Linked DNA regions of Homo sapiens: regions 2, 3 and 4 are each linked to region 1. The links are contacts of gene promoters, found by promoter capture Hi-C in blood cells and fetal thymus (Javierre and others, 2016). All regions are on one chromosome and are shown on one strand. Each heading gives the region's core, a stretch centred on a gene start or on the middle of the fragment in contact. The rest is flanking DNA. Distances are from core to core; before and after follow the strand shown. Region 1 holds the start of SLC29A3 (solute carrier family 29 member 3). Region 2 overlaps CDH23 (cadherin related 23). Region 3 overlaps CDH23 (cadherin related 23). Region 4 overlaps CDH23 (cadherin related 23).

Region 1 (2,700 bases), core at 21-2,520:
GCCATGTGAAGGCACAGCAAGAAGGAGGCTGTCTGCAAGCCAGGAAGAGAGCCCTCATCAGAAACCAAATCAACCAGCACCTTGATCTTGCCCTTCCCAGCCTCCAGATCCATGAGAAACAAATTTTGTTTAAGCCACCCAGTCTATGCTATTTTGTCTGGCACAAAATGGTACAAATGTAACAAGCTCACTTGTTACATTTTAAAAATTAGTGTTTAAAATGTAAAAAATAATCATGACCCACCCACATAGAACAAGAGAGAACCGGCAAGTGGTTCTTTCCAGAGGCTCCAGCTACCTGTGGGGGCGGCTAGAAGGTCCACCAGCCCTGTCACTCAGGACCACACCTGGCTAGGGCCCCCTTCTCAGTTCCTAGCGTCTATTTGTCAAGGCTTGACTGAGCTTCTGAAGAAGGAGCCAGGAATTTTCTCTAACCAGGGTCACAGGCCAGGGCACTGGAGTGAGCAAAGTCTTATTAGTCTTTATAAAAGCTAGCTGCTGGCTTCTGGATTAAAAAATAAAGAGAAAGGCAGGCAAGGAAGTGCCCAACCTTCCCCAAAACAAGCTGGCTGTGGCCTGGAACGTGCTCCTGGGTCACCTGCGGGAGCCCGGCCATGCACAGACAGACAGCCCCACACAAGGAGGCAGGCACTGCTGGGGCCGCGGCAAAACCTCATCTGGGCTGGGAAGCCTGGGTGCTGGTTCCAAGGAGGTTCCTGACTCTGGCTAGGTGGCTCGCCCCTCTGTGCCTCGATCTCCTGGGCTGTGAACCGGGGTGGGGAGCTGGTAGGGCTAACCTGTGGGAAGGCACTGGGAAGCGCAGGGCACCGCCTACTGGCCGCGGCAGAACCGGCTTTGCGGTGTAAACAGCCCCAGCCTCAGGCCCCGCAGCTGGGACCGAGAGAATCAGCCACCGTCTGGATACTTCGGGCCGACGGGTCCATACCAGGCCCCCACCATACAGGCGGTGAGGTCCAGTCTCAGGGAGGAGGAGGGGAGAGGATTTGGGGAAGAGAAGATAGAGACCCAGAAAGAGGGGTGGCAGAGAGCAAGGAGAGAGAGGAGGGACGGTGGGGAAGGGACCACGGATGGGGTAGGGTCCTGCGGCTCCCCTGGCAGCCCGCAGCCGCCCCCAGGGCCCGGGAGGGAGGTCGCTGAGCGCGAGTCTGGGGGCGGCCGGGACCGTAGCCGGAAGAGCCCGAGCCGGCCCGCACTTACTGTCGCCGCTGCGCCACGCCGCCGCTGCCTCCGGCGCACGGCCAGGACCACTGGGCTTGGCAGGCGGCAGGCGGGCTCCTCCCCCGGCCCCGCCCCGCCCCTCGCGGCAGCACGCCGCCGCTTCCCCGTTTGCAAACACGCTTTTTTCCTTTGTCTTCTGCCGGCGCGCCGGGGCTCCCCCTTCTGGCGCTGAGCTGGGGCCTGCGTGCGCCCATTTTATAGGAGAAAAAGTGAGTCACCCAGTCTTAAACGCACTGCCCATGCTTGCGATGGGTGCGCTGCGCATCAGGCCTTTTGGTTGCTGCTCCTTCTTTACCTTGGAGCCAGACCCCACTGTCTCAGACCTCCCCTTTAGCTACTATAACCTGCACCCCAGGACTCAAAGGAGCCCTCATCTTGTCCCCAGGCCGCTGCAGAGACCCCTCTCCAAAGGCCGCTTCTACCCTTACCGGCTGCCGCTGCTCTGGAGGTGAAGCGGGACCCACACCCGGACTGAACTGGGCCTCCCAGGCCAGGCAGCTATTTTCAGTAGACCCAGAACATGGCAGTCAGCAATTCCAGCCCTCACACTTGACCTCAGCCATAGCGTGTAACACACAGCTGCCGCGTGTTCTTTAAGAAAGCAGGGGCCGGGCGCGGTGGCTCACGCCTGTAATCCCAGCACTTTGGGAGGCCGAAGCAGGCGGATCACCTGAGGTCGGGAGTTTGAGACCAGCCTGGCCAACATGGCGAAACCTCGTCTCTACTGAAAATACAAAAGTAGCCGGGCATGGTGGTGCGTGCCAGTGATCCCAGCTATGTGGGAGGCTGAGGCAGGAGAATCGCTTGAACCCGGGAGGCGGAGATTTCAGTGAACCGAGATGGTGCCACTGCACTCCAGCCTGGAGCCTGGGCGACAGAGCAAGACTCCATCTCAAAAAAAAAAAAAAAAAAAAAAAGGCGGAAACCTTCCTGACTCCCGGTCCTGGCCCAGTTGGCCTATTCAGAGCGGGGATCTGGATGCTTCACAGGGCCTGAAGATCTGTGACCATGGATAGTAAATTCTTGCAGTTGCCATCCCAGGGCTCAGGGGTGCCACAGAACCCATTGAGGCTGTCAGTGTGTGGACAGGTTCTCAGAACATCCCCACTCCCTGCCCCAGCCTCTCATTTTATAACCACCATTCCCCAAACACTGGCCTGATCATAAAAGTCTCGAGTACACATCCAGATTCTGGGGACCTCTCCCCAGGAGGGTTGCTGCCACTCCCCAATCCCTGAGGGTGGTGCTGTATCTGCTTTGTTTGCTCTTCCCTCATCGTGGGCACATAATTTGTGTTCAATAAATACCTGGATTAATACAACCCATCACTCAGGGGGTGCAGAATGGGGATCCAGAATGGATCTATTTAACAAGCTCCACCAGCAGGCGAGTTTGGAGACTAGCACCCTAAATTGTCAGAAAGCCCCCCGGCCCAGGAGAGGAAGGGGCTTAGCTCCAGGC
Region 2 (2,775 bases), core at 151-2,650, 360 kb before region 1:
GGCGGAGGTTGCAATGAGCCGAGATCGAGCCACTGCACTCCAGCCTGGGTGACAGAGTAAAACTCTGTCTCAAAAAAAAAAAAAAAAAGAAAAAGAAAAAAAAAAAAGAAAGACAGAGGGATGTAGATTTCATAGAGAATGCAATTTCTTTTTCTTTTTTTTTTTTTTTTTGAGACGGAGTGTCACTCTGTCACCAGGCTGGAGTGCAGTGGTGCAACCTGGGCTCCCTGCAACCTCCGCCTCCCAGGTTCAAGTGATTCTCCTGCCTCAGCCTTCCGAGTATCTGGGATTACAGGTGCACACCACCACGCCTGGCCAATTTTTGTATTTTTAGTAGAGACAGGGTTTCACCATGTTGGCCAGGCTGGTCTCAAACTCCTGACCTCAATTGATCCGCCGGTCTCGGCCTCCCAAAGTGCTGGGATTACAGACGTGAGCCACCGCGCTGGTCAGAACTGCAATTTCTACAGTGGCATTTCTCTGAACTGAACTAACTGTGGGGTAGTGGGAGGAATGACCACTGGACCCAGAGTCACTCAACGCACATCGATTCCTTCTGCCCTGGGGGCACCTAACCCAGGCTCCAGGAATCAGAGAAGCTTCCCAAAGGAGGAGGTGTTAAATGAGCCCTTAAAGCTAGCCAGGGGCTACACACTGGACAGCCAAAGGGAGGCAGGACCAAGGGGCAAGGAGGAAGGGCTTTCCTGGCAGAAGGAACAAACTCTGCAAAGACATGGGGGTGAACACCAGTAAGGGGAGACAGTGTCAAAGTGTTCAAAGAGGCTGGACTCTGGTGGGGCAAGGGCTGCTGAGAGCTGAGGCTCGCAAGGCAACCAAGGGCCAGACCACACGGGGACTTGGTGCCAAGCTCAGCAGCTTTGCAGGGTGAGCTCAGGCAAGTTGCTCCCTGTCTCTGGGCCTTAGCTGCTTTATCTGAAAAACAAAATAGTCTCTCTTGGGATCTTGGAGCTTGAGGTTGCTGCTATTTCCTACCAGGGCTCTAGGGATGGGGACCCACAGCAGGCAGCAGGGCATGGTGCAGAGTGCCTGGTCCCACACGGCCGCCCAAAAAGTAGGGAGTCTTGGCTAAAGAGCTTCCATCCCACGGACCTGCCTGCAGCCTTGGTAAGAAACAGAGAACCCCAGAGATTCTGTTAACATCACACTTCTGGCTCGATTGCAGGGCTGGCCATGGCCTAAGAACCAGAGAGAGATCCTGCTGATGAGGGACACAGATGTTGACCCTACGGAAGGGCGACTCAGGCCACATCCTGCTCCACCCCAGGTGCTCCGGGCAGCTTCCTGAGTAGCCCAGAGTGTCAGGGAGACAAGGAGTGCCCGCCTCATCCCCACAAGGGAGGTGTGAGTGCAGAGAGCCCCCCAGCCCTCCTCCTGGCTGGGCCCCGAGTTCTGCCCCACACCTACCTCCATAGCCCTCGTACAGGCTGATGTCGAAGTAGCTGCCAAAGGCAGATGCACTGACAATGCTGTAGGTGATCTGGTTGTTGGGAGGGGAGTCTTCATCTGTTGCCTGAAAGGAAGAGGGCAGACAAGGGCCGTGAGCCTGCAGGAGACTGGGGGCCAGAAGAGGGTGGGCAGCTGGGAGGGTGGGGAAGACTGGCCCTGTTCACAGCTCCTTTTTTGGGTGATCCAGCCCTGGGTCTTGTCCTGGCCCAGGACGCCAGGAGGCACCCCTTGTGCTTCAACTGGAGGCCGCACTCTGGCTCCCAGCAGACGCCCTGCTCCCCTCCATGTGCTGGGTGTGGAGGCAGCCTGGGGAATCTAGAGGGCAGGTGGGAGGCGCAGGAATAATGCAGAGGCCGGGCCTTCCCAGAGGCTGAGACACAATTACCTCCCACCCCCAACCCCAGCTGGAACACCCCCACCTGCAGATGCCCTCCCTGACTCCCGGAGCCGGTTAGGGCCCTAGGGTTGCATACCCCATTGGTCCCCTTACACCCAGTGGTAATTTCTTATCTAATTTCTGCCTCCCTCACTTAGACCGTCAGCTTCATGTGAGCAGGAACCTTGTTTCTTGATTGCTGCTGCATACCTACAGGCCAACACAGTATTTGGCCACAGTGGGTGTCTAATCCATGCATGTTGCATGAAAGCAAGGAGGAAAGAAGGCACCTGGAGTGGGGCCAGGGATCCCTCTACCCCTTGACTGTCTTCTCTGGGAGCTGAATTAATAAGCTTCTTTCCAGGTTGTCCCTCACTCTAGAGCCTCCAGTGGTCCCCACCACTCCGGGTACACCTGGAGCTGAGCAGGGAGGGCAGGGCAGGACAGGGTTGTACGGGGGGCCGTGGCCAGGCTGGGCGGGCACATGTTCTGTTCTTCTTGGTATCCCCTGTGCTCACCCTTCCAGCCTTGCCTTCATCCCTACCTGCTTCAGAAACAAGTTCCAAATGGAGGCTCTGGGTCCCATCCCTTGGGGTAGGCAGCATGGGGAAGGGGGGACATTTAAAAGTCTCTGGTTAAAGGTCACTGAAGCCTAGTGGGGGACTTGCTGCAGGAAGCACTTGGAGAATAGCATTCCGGGACTAGACCTGGCTCTGCTACCCGACTATGTCTTCGTGGGCAAGCCTCCTCCCCTCTGGGTTCCCCTTCTGTAAAATGGGGTTGCACTCCATGGTCTCTGTGGCTCCTTCCAGCTGCAGCACTTCCTGATTCTAGTCAGTCGTTAAAGGGCTTGGAGGAGGTCCTGACACAGGGAACTGCTCCCCACTCAATGCCCTTGCTAAGGGAGATGGCAGTGGATGGGTCGGGGGGTG
Region 3 (2,700 bases), core at 104-2,603, 270 kb before region 1:
TGGAGGATGGGAGGCAGGGAATGGGGTAGAGGAGGAACACACAGGTGGTAAGGTGTGGGTAAGGTGAGGGTAAGGTGTGGGTAAGGTATGAATAAGGTGTGGGTAAGGCGAGGTAAGGCATGGGTGATGGTCTTGCTCTAGGTGAGCTGGTGAGTTTCACAGGCATCCACAATATTATTAAGGCTAAGAATGAAACAAAAGAGAGCTACACATGGACCAATGTTAATCGTGAGCCGAGAATTACGTTTAAATCAATTCTGTGTACCAGAGGTGGACCAAGTTAAAATAGAAAGAGAATGCAAACTGAATGGTGGCTAATTTCTTATTCCTCCAAAGATCTCAAAGCTCTTGAAAGTCAATAAAAAGCAGTTATCTTACAGATTGAGGAAAAAGCAGAAAAGAAACAAAAAAGAAAAAAAGACAAGTTCCTGTTGACATGTGGTAACCAGAATCGCCCACCAAAACAACCTCCAGCCATGAGCTAGAAACCCCCCAACCCCACAGAGCTGCCTCAGCCATGGCTCTGGCTCAGAGATGTGGTTCCCTGAGCTGAGTGGACCAATAAAAAGAGCCCGTGCAGTCCATGCTTTGCCCAGCTGGGGAAGTGGACTCAGGTCTAGCAGAAGGGAGAGGCCTTGAGGGTGTTTCCACAGCACTCTATGTCCCGAGCAAGGGACAGAGACAGACTCCTGCCCATGGGGAGGGTATGGGGAAGACGAGACGCAGAAAGGGAGAGTCCTAGACTGTGCTTCAGTGAAACCTCTTAAAAGTCCACCCACCAGTGTTATTTATGGGAAGGAAGCAAGGGGCAAGCCACTGTTGCTGACAAAGAGCATACAGGACCTCATTAAAGGAGAGAGGAAGAACAGGGAATCATGAGCATGGCTATAAAGACTGGTTTATCACAAAGGCGAGCTCATGAGAGCATCAGGAGAGGCCGGCTGGCAGGAAGCACACCCTGCAGAGAAGAGGGCGAAAGATCAGGGGGAAGGAAGAAGTGCAGACTTTTCTGTGGCTCATCAGGAGAAAGTGAGTGTTGGTGTGATGCATTATTGCTGTCTCGGCATGATGGTGGGAGAGAACTGCAAATAACAGGCCAGCGTGTTTGTATAATTAAATTAAAAACCCTCTAGAGGCTCTGTCCCTAGATACTCTTGAAAGAAGAGAGCTACAGGATACAAATGGGCTAAACCTGCACTTTGGACAGCAGGTTTGTTCCAGCTTGAGAGAGAATGCTTCTCAACTGCTAGTGGCTGCCAGAGGGCAGGTAAGAAAGGCTTGGAGGCCCATCCTTGTGCTGGGATCAATTAGTGATGTCTGCCATGGATGAAGAATGGGGTGTTTTGGTACATGTGGGTCTAGGGTGGCATTCACAGATATTAACAGGCTTTTCCTATGAATATGCCCCTTTCTGCCTAGGCCACCACCATGATCCGAGAAACCTAGACTCAGACGTTAGTAGTTTCTTTGTCTCCTCCTTTTCCCACATCATCTATTTTCAGTACATCACCAGAGCCTGCTGACTCGGTTCCTGTACGTCACCACAATGACCCCCAGACCTCCCCGCGGCAAGGACAGATTAGAGCCACAGCCTGTTAGCAGATCGCCCTCATTCCAGTGCTTCCTGCTCCAATCCACCCAGAACTGATGAATCTCCTGGTGACCCCGCGTTCACTTCCCCGACCCCAGCTGCACTCAATAACCTACTTCTTTTGCTTTCTCTGTCTTCTAGCAAATGTCCTGCCACCCCTCTCTGATCTGCCCTGGACTCCTTCCTGGTGACCTCTGGCTCCAGCCAGGTGAGCCATTCCCCAAGATGCCCTGAGATGTTTGGGGCTTCCAGGCAGCCATTGTGCTACCCTAAGCCAGGAGCTGTGGTGTGCGATTCAGAGTTCCAAAGCAATTCTGCTTTTCCTGAGTTTTTACTTCTCAGGGGAAGAAAATGCCAAGCAGCTTAATCACAAGGGCTTTGAAGTGTTTCGCACGATGGTCTCCTATGATAGCTGTCCCCCACTAGGCCATGGCCAGAGGCCCGATTCAGTTATTGGCATATGTGGGGGGTGTGAGGTTGTGCAAGTCTGACTGTATCTGATTATTCTCCCTGCGTACACACACACACACACACACACACACACACACAGACTTCCCTTCAAAGCAATCAGTGTATTTTCATGTATTTCAGTATATTTTAAAGCACTCAATGTACCTCCTCACTTGGGTAGCATTAAAATAAAATTCAGAGACAAGCAAGGGAAGGCTCTGTCCTTCACTACCATAGTGCCCCAGTGTGACCTGGAAGTGAGGCCACTGCCTTGAAAGTTGAAAGTGAGGGGTTTCGGCCTGATATTTCTCACCTACCCTTGATTCTAGAGGGTTTCTCAACCTTCTCTTCATCATCACCCACCCCACTCAACCCCTTGCCCCAGGAGCCACTTTAGACATTTTTACGTAATTGCTTTCCTCCCCCGACATGAAATGTCAACACCATGGATATAATGTAAATCTGCTTTAAACATTAAAAGAGTAAGATCTTCCCCAGTACAAAATTTTGCCGCCATTGAGAACACACGCTCCTTTAGACCAGAGCTTCTCAAAGTGTGGTCCCCAGACCAGCAGCATCAGTGTTGCCCGGGCGCACCCACAGAGTTTCTGATTCTTTAGGTTTAGTGGGGATGCAAAACCTTGCATTTCTAATAATTC
Region 4 (2,700 bases), core at 55-2,554, 330 kb before region 1:
CTAAGACAGGCAGTGAACTGGCTTTCCTGGATCATCTGGCTGGGCTATTAGGTTTCCAGCACCTTGAGTAGAACCCATGTTAGAGTTCTTGGATTCAGCAGCATGGAGGGACAGGGGTGATCTCTGAGCCTGAAGGCTGGGGGTGTCCTGACAGTTACAGAGCAGAGGGAGAGGCCCTGTGGCCTTACAGCTGGTGGAACAGGCCTGCTGCATTTGAAGTCCTCCAGGATTGAAGCTTGCCTTCAACACGGCCAGCCCAGGGCAATGACATCATACCCACCTTTTCCTTGTGGGGTCAATGCTGTGGGTGGGAGGGGAAGGAGAGATGGGGACAAACAGCAATGGGGCTGACATTGATGCAGCAGGGCTGTCTGCTGATGTGGCAGGAGAGGGAGGCTGGGCTGGACCAGGAGGAAAAGCCAGTTAGCTCTAGGAGGGGGAAGTGAAGTCCTGGGGAATCTTCCTGAGACTTCCAGATGGGAGCTGAGAGAGGAGGGGTAGGGCAGGAGACGGGCTCTAGAGGCCAGTGGGTGGGTGGGGACCCTTGCAGGGTGGGTGGCACGTTCATGTTGCTGGGCATGAAACTAAACAGCAAGAATGGCTCCCCTTTCTCCTTGGACAGTGCAAATTGGAATTAAAGCCTCACCAACCCAGAAGGCCCTGAACCAGCCCCTGGCCCAGTCATCTCACTGGGACCCAGAGGTTCAGTGACTGGCCAAGGTCACATGGCTGCCTGAGGCAGGGCCACAGCTCTGAGGGTGGTGTCCTTGCCCAGGGCCCGTGCTCCCTGGAGGCTCAGCCAGGAGGCCAGGCATGACTTGCTGACATTTCCAGCGTGTGTTCCTAGCCAGCCTCTGTGCTGTGTCTTCATGAATCATTTCATTTGATTCTCACAACAATCCTCCAAGGTAGGCTCCTAGCAGGTTATCTCCCCCAGCTCACAGAAGAGGAAACTGAGGCCCGGTGTCTTGTCCAGGGTCCACTGCGGCAGAGCTGGGCTTGTCCACAGGCCGAAGGGCTGGTGGGCAGCCAGGTGAGACCCTGAAGGCCAGTGATGAAAATACCCACTCCTGCCATCTGTAAATCTTACCTGTTTACACCACATCACTGCAATGGGTCTCCCAACAACCCAGCACTGCAGGCTGCGCAGGCACTACTTTCCCATTTCATAGGAAAAAAGCCAAGTCCCAGAGAAGGAGTGACCAGCTCATAGTAAGACAGGATTGCAGGGACTCCCTGGATGTCTTGTGGCCCTGCCCAAGATGCTGCCAGCCTCCCAAGGACAGGCTGGGAAGAGGGGGCAGGGAGATGAGAGAGGAGCAGGCTTTTAGGCCACCTCCAGCCAGCCCTGTCTGTCTGGAGCTGAGAGGTGGAGCTCTACCCACGGCTCAGCAAACCACAAGCTGGTCCTGGGGCCCCACACCTGCCCAGTCAGGACTTTTCAGGGCCTCTCCTTTCTTGGCTTCCTCCGACTGGGGAAGAAGCCTGTCTTGTCTGAAGTCCATCTTCTGCCCATTTCTGCCATGCCCCACCCCCTGCAGCAGGGATAGAAGGCCTTGGAGCTCAGTAAGCCCTGCGCCAGGGGGGCTGCCACCCTTCCTCAGCACTTCGCCTCTCCCACTGCCCAGAGGACATGGAGCTAATAAATAGAGGGACACGTGCCCCATGCTGCAAGAGGCCAAGCTGGCTCCTCACACATCCTAGGTACCACCTCTGCCAACTGTTTCCCAAACGCCTGCCACCGTCACAAGGATGGAACAGGCAAGGGGGTATGGATGGTTTGATATAGGCCTTCCCCACTATCAGAACAGCATCCCAAAGGGCATATTGTGGGGAGTATCAATTTGGGAAGAAGAGAAACAGCCAAGCCTCTTGTGCTTCAAAGGAGCAGGACCCCACTTCCCCACACATCACACACGTCCTCACTGTACTCCAGCCACGGGGCCTTTGCACATGCTGTTCTCTCCTCCAGTGGTTTTTTTTTTTTTTGAGATAGGGTCTCACTCTGTTGCACAGGCTGGAGTGCAGTGGCTCACGGCTCACTGGAGTGCAGTGGATCACGGCTCACTGAAGTCTCAACTTCCTGGGCTCAAGTGACATTCTCACCTCAGCCTCTACAGTAGCTGGAACTAAAGGTGTATGCCACCACAGCTGGCATTTTTTTTTTTTTTTTTTTGCAGAGACAGGGTTTTGCCATGTTGCCCAGGCTGATCTTGAACTCCTAGGCGCAAGTGATCCAGTTGCCTTGGCCTCCCAAAGTGTTGGGATTCCAGGCATGAGCCACTGCTCCCAGCCTCTTTTCTCCAATGTTATTCCCTGTCTGCCTTCACCAGTTAATGCTTACTCAAATGCCACTTCCTCAGGGAAGCTTTCCTGGACCCCAGGCAAGGTCAGGTACCCTATTAGAGGTTCGCGTACTCCCTGATCTCTCCATCACAGCAAGTAATACTCAGTGTGAAGATTCATTTCGTAGTTAGTCCAGTTTTCCTGGAAGACTATAAACTTTATAAGTACAAGACTCACATCACCATGTGTCCTCAGGGCCATGTGCCTAGCACACAGCAGGTATTCACCAAACGTTTGTTGAATCAATGAATGAATGAATAAATGATTAGGTTACTCTTGTACTTCTTGTACTGTCCAGTGGTGCCCACAAACCCTGCCAGGCCCCAGACACTGGCCAGGCTGCAGGGCTGCCCC

The links. The method cuts DNA at HindIII sites, captures the fragments that hold promoters and counts their contacts. A CHiCAGO score of 5 or more calls a contact.
Region 2: a fragment that was not itself captured here is called in contact with the fragment with the promoter of SLC29A3 in region 1 in 8 of 17 cell types (total B cells, naive B cells, endothelial precursors and 5 more); the score reaches 9.3 in total B cells.
Region 3: a fragment that was not itself captured here is called in contact with the fragment with the promoter of SLC29A3 in region 1 in 2 of 17 cell types (megakaryocytes and naive B cells); the score reaches 6.5 in megakaryocytes.
Region 4: a fragment that was not itself captured here is called in contact with the fragment with the promoter of SLC29A3 in region 1 in 1 of 17 cell types (endothelial precursors); the score reaches 5.5 in endothelial precursors.

Annotation. Positions count from the first base shown.
Region 1 is chr10:71,317,829-71,320,528 of GRCh38, reverse strand. SLC29A3 (solute carrier family 29 member 3) reads right to left here and starts at 1,270. Exons shown (of 6, transcript NM_018344.6): 1 at 1,219-1,270. The coding sequence starts at 1,219. LOC124902445 (a long non-coding RNA gene) reads left to right here and starts at 866. Exons shown (of 2, transcript XR_007062183.1): 1 at 866-967; 2 at 1,625-2,560. RefSeq lists a silencer at 1,024-1,473. The HindIII fragment of the contact is 7,819 bases long and covers 1-2,700 here.
Region 2 is chr10:71,678,143-71,680,917 of GRCh38, reverse strand. CDH23 (cadherin related 23) reads right to left here. Exons shown (of 70, transcript NM_022124.6): 17 at 1,426-1,531. Among named protein-coding and RNA genes, the nearest start is that of C10orf105, 40 kb to the left of the region's middle. The HindIII fragment of the contact is 1,597 bases long and covers 602-2,198 here.
Region 3 is chr10:71,583,983-71,586,682 of GRCh38, reverse strand. The region is part of intron 9 of CDH23 (cadherin related 23); the gene reads right to left. Among named protein-coding and RNA genes, the nearest start is that of CDH23-AS1, 73 kb to the right of the region's middle. The HindIII fragment of the contact is 8,272 bases long and covers 1-2,700 here.
Region 4 is chr10:71,650,843-71,653,542 of GRCh38, reverse strand. All of the region lies in intron 14 of CDH23 (cadherin related 23), which reads right to left. Among named protein-coding and RNA genes, the nearest start is that of C10orf105, 68 kb to the left of the region's middle. The HindIII fragment of the contact is 2,133 bases long and covers 238-2,370 here.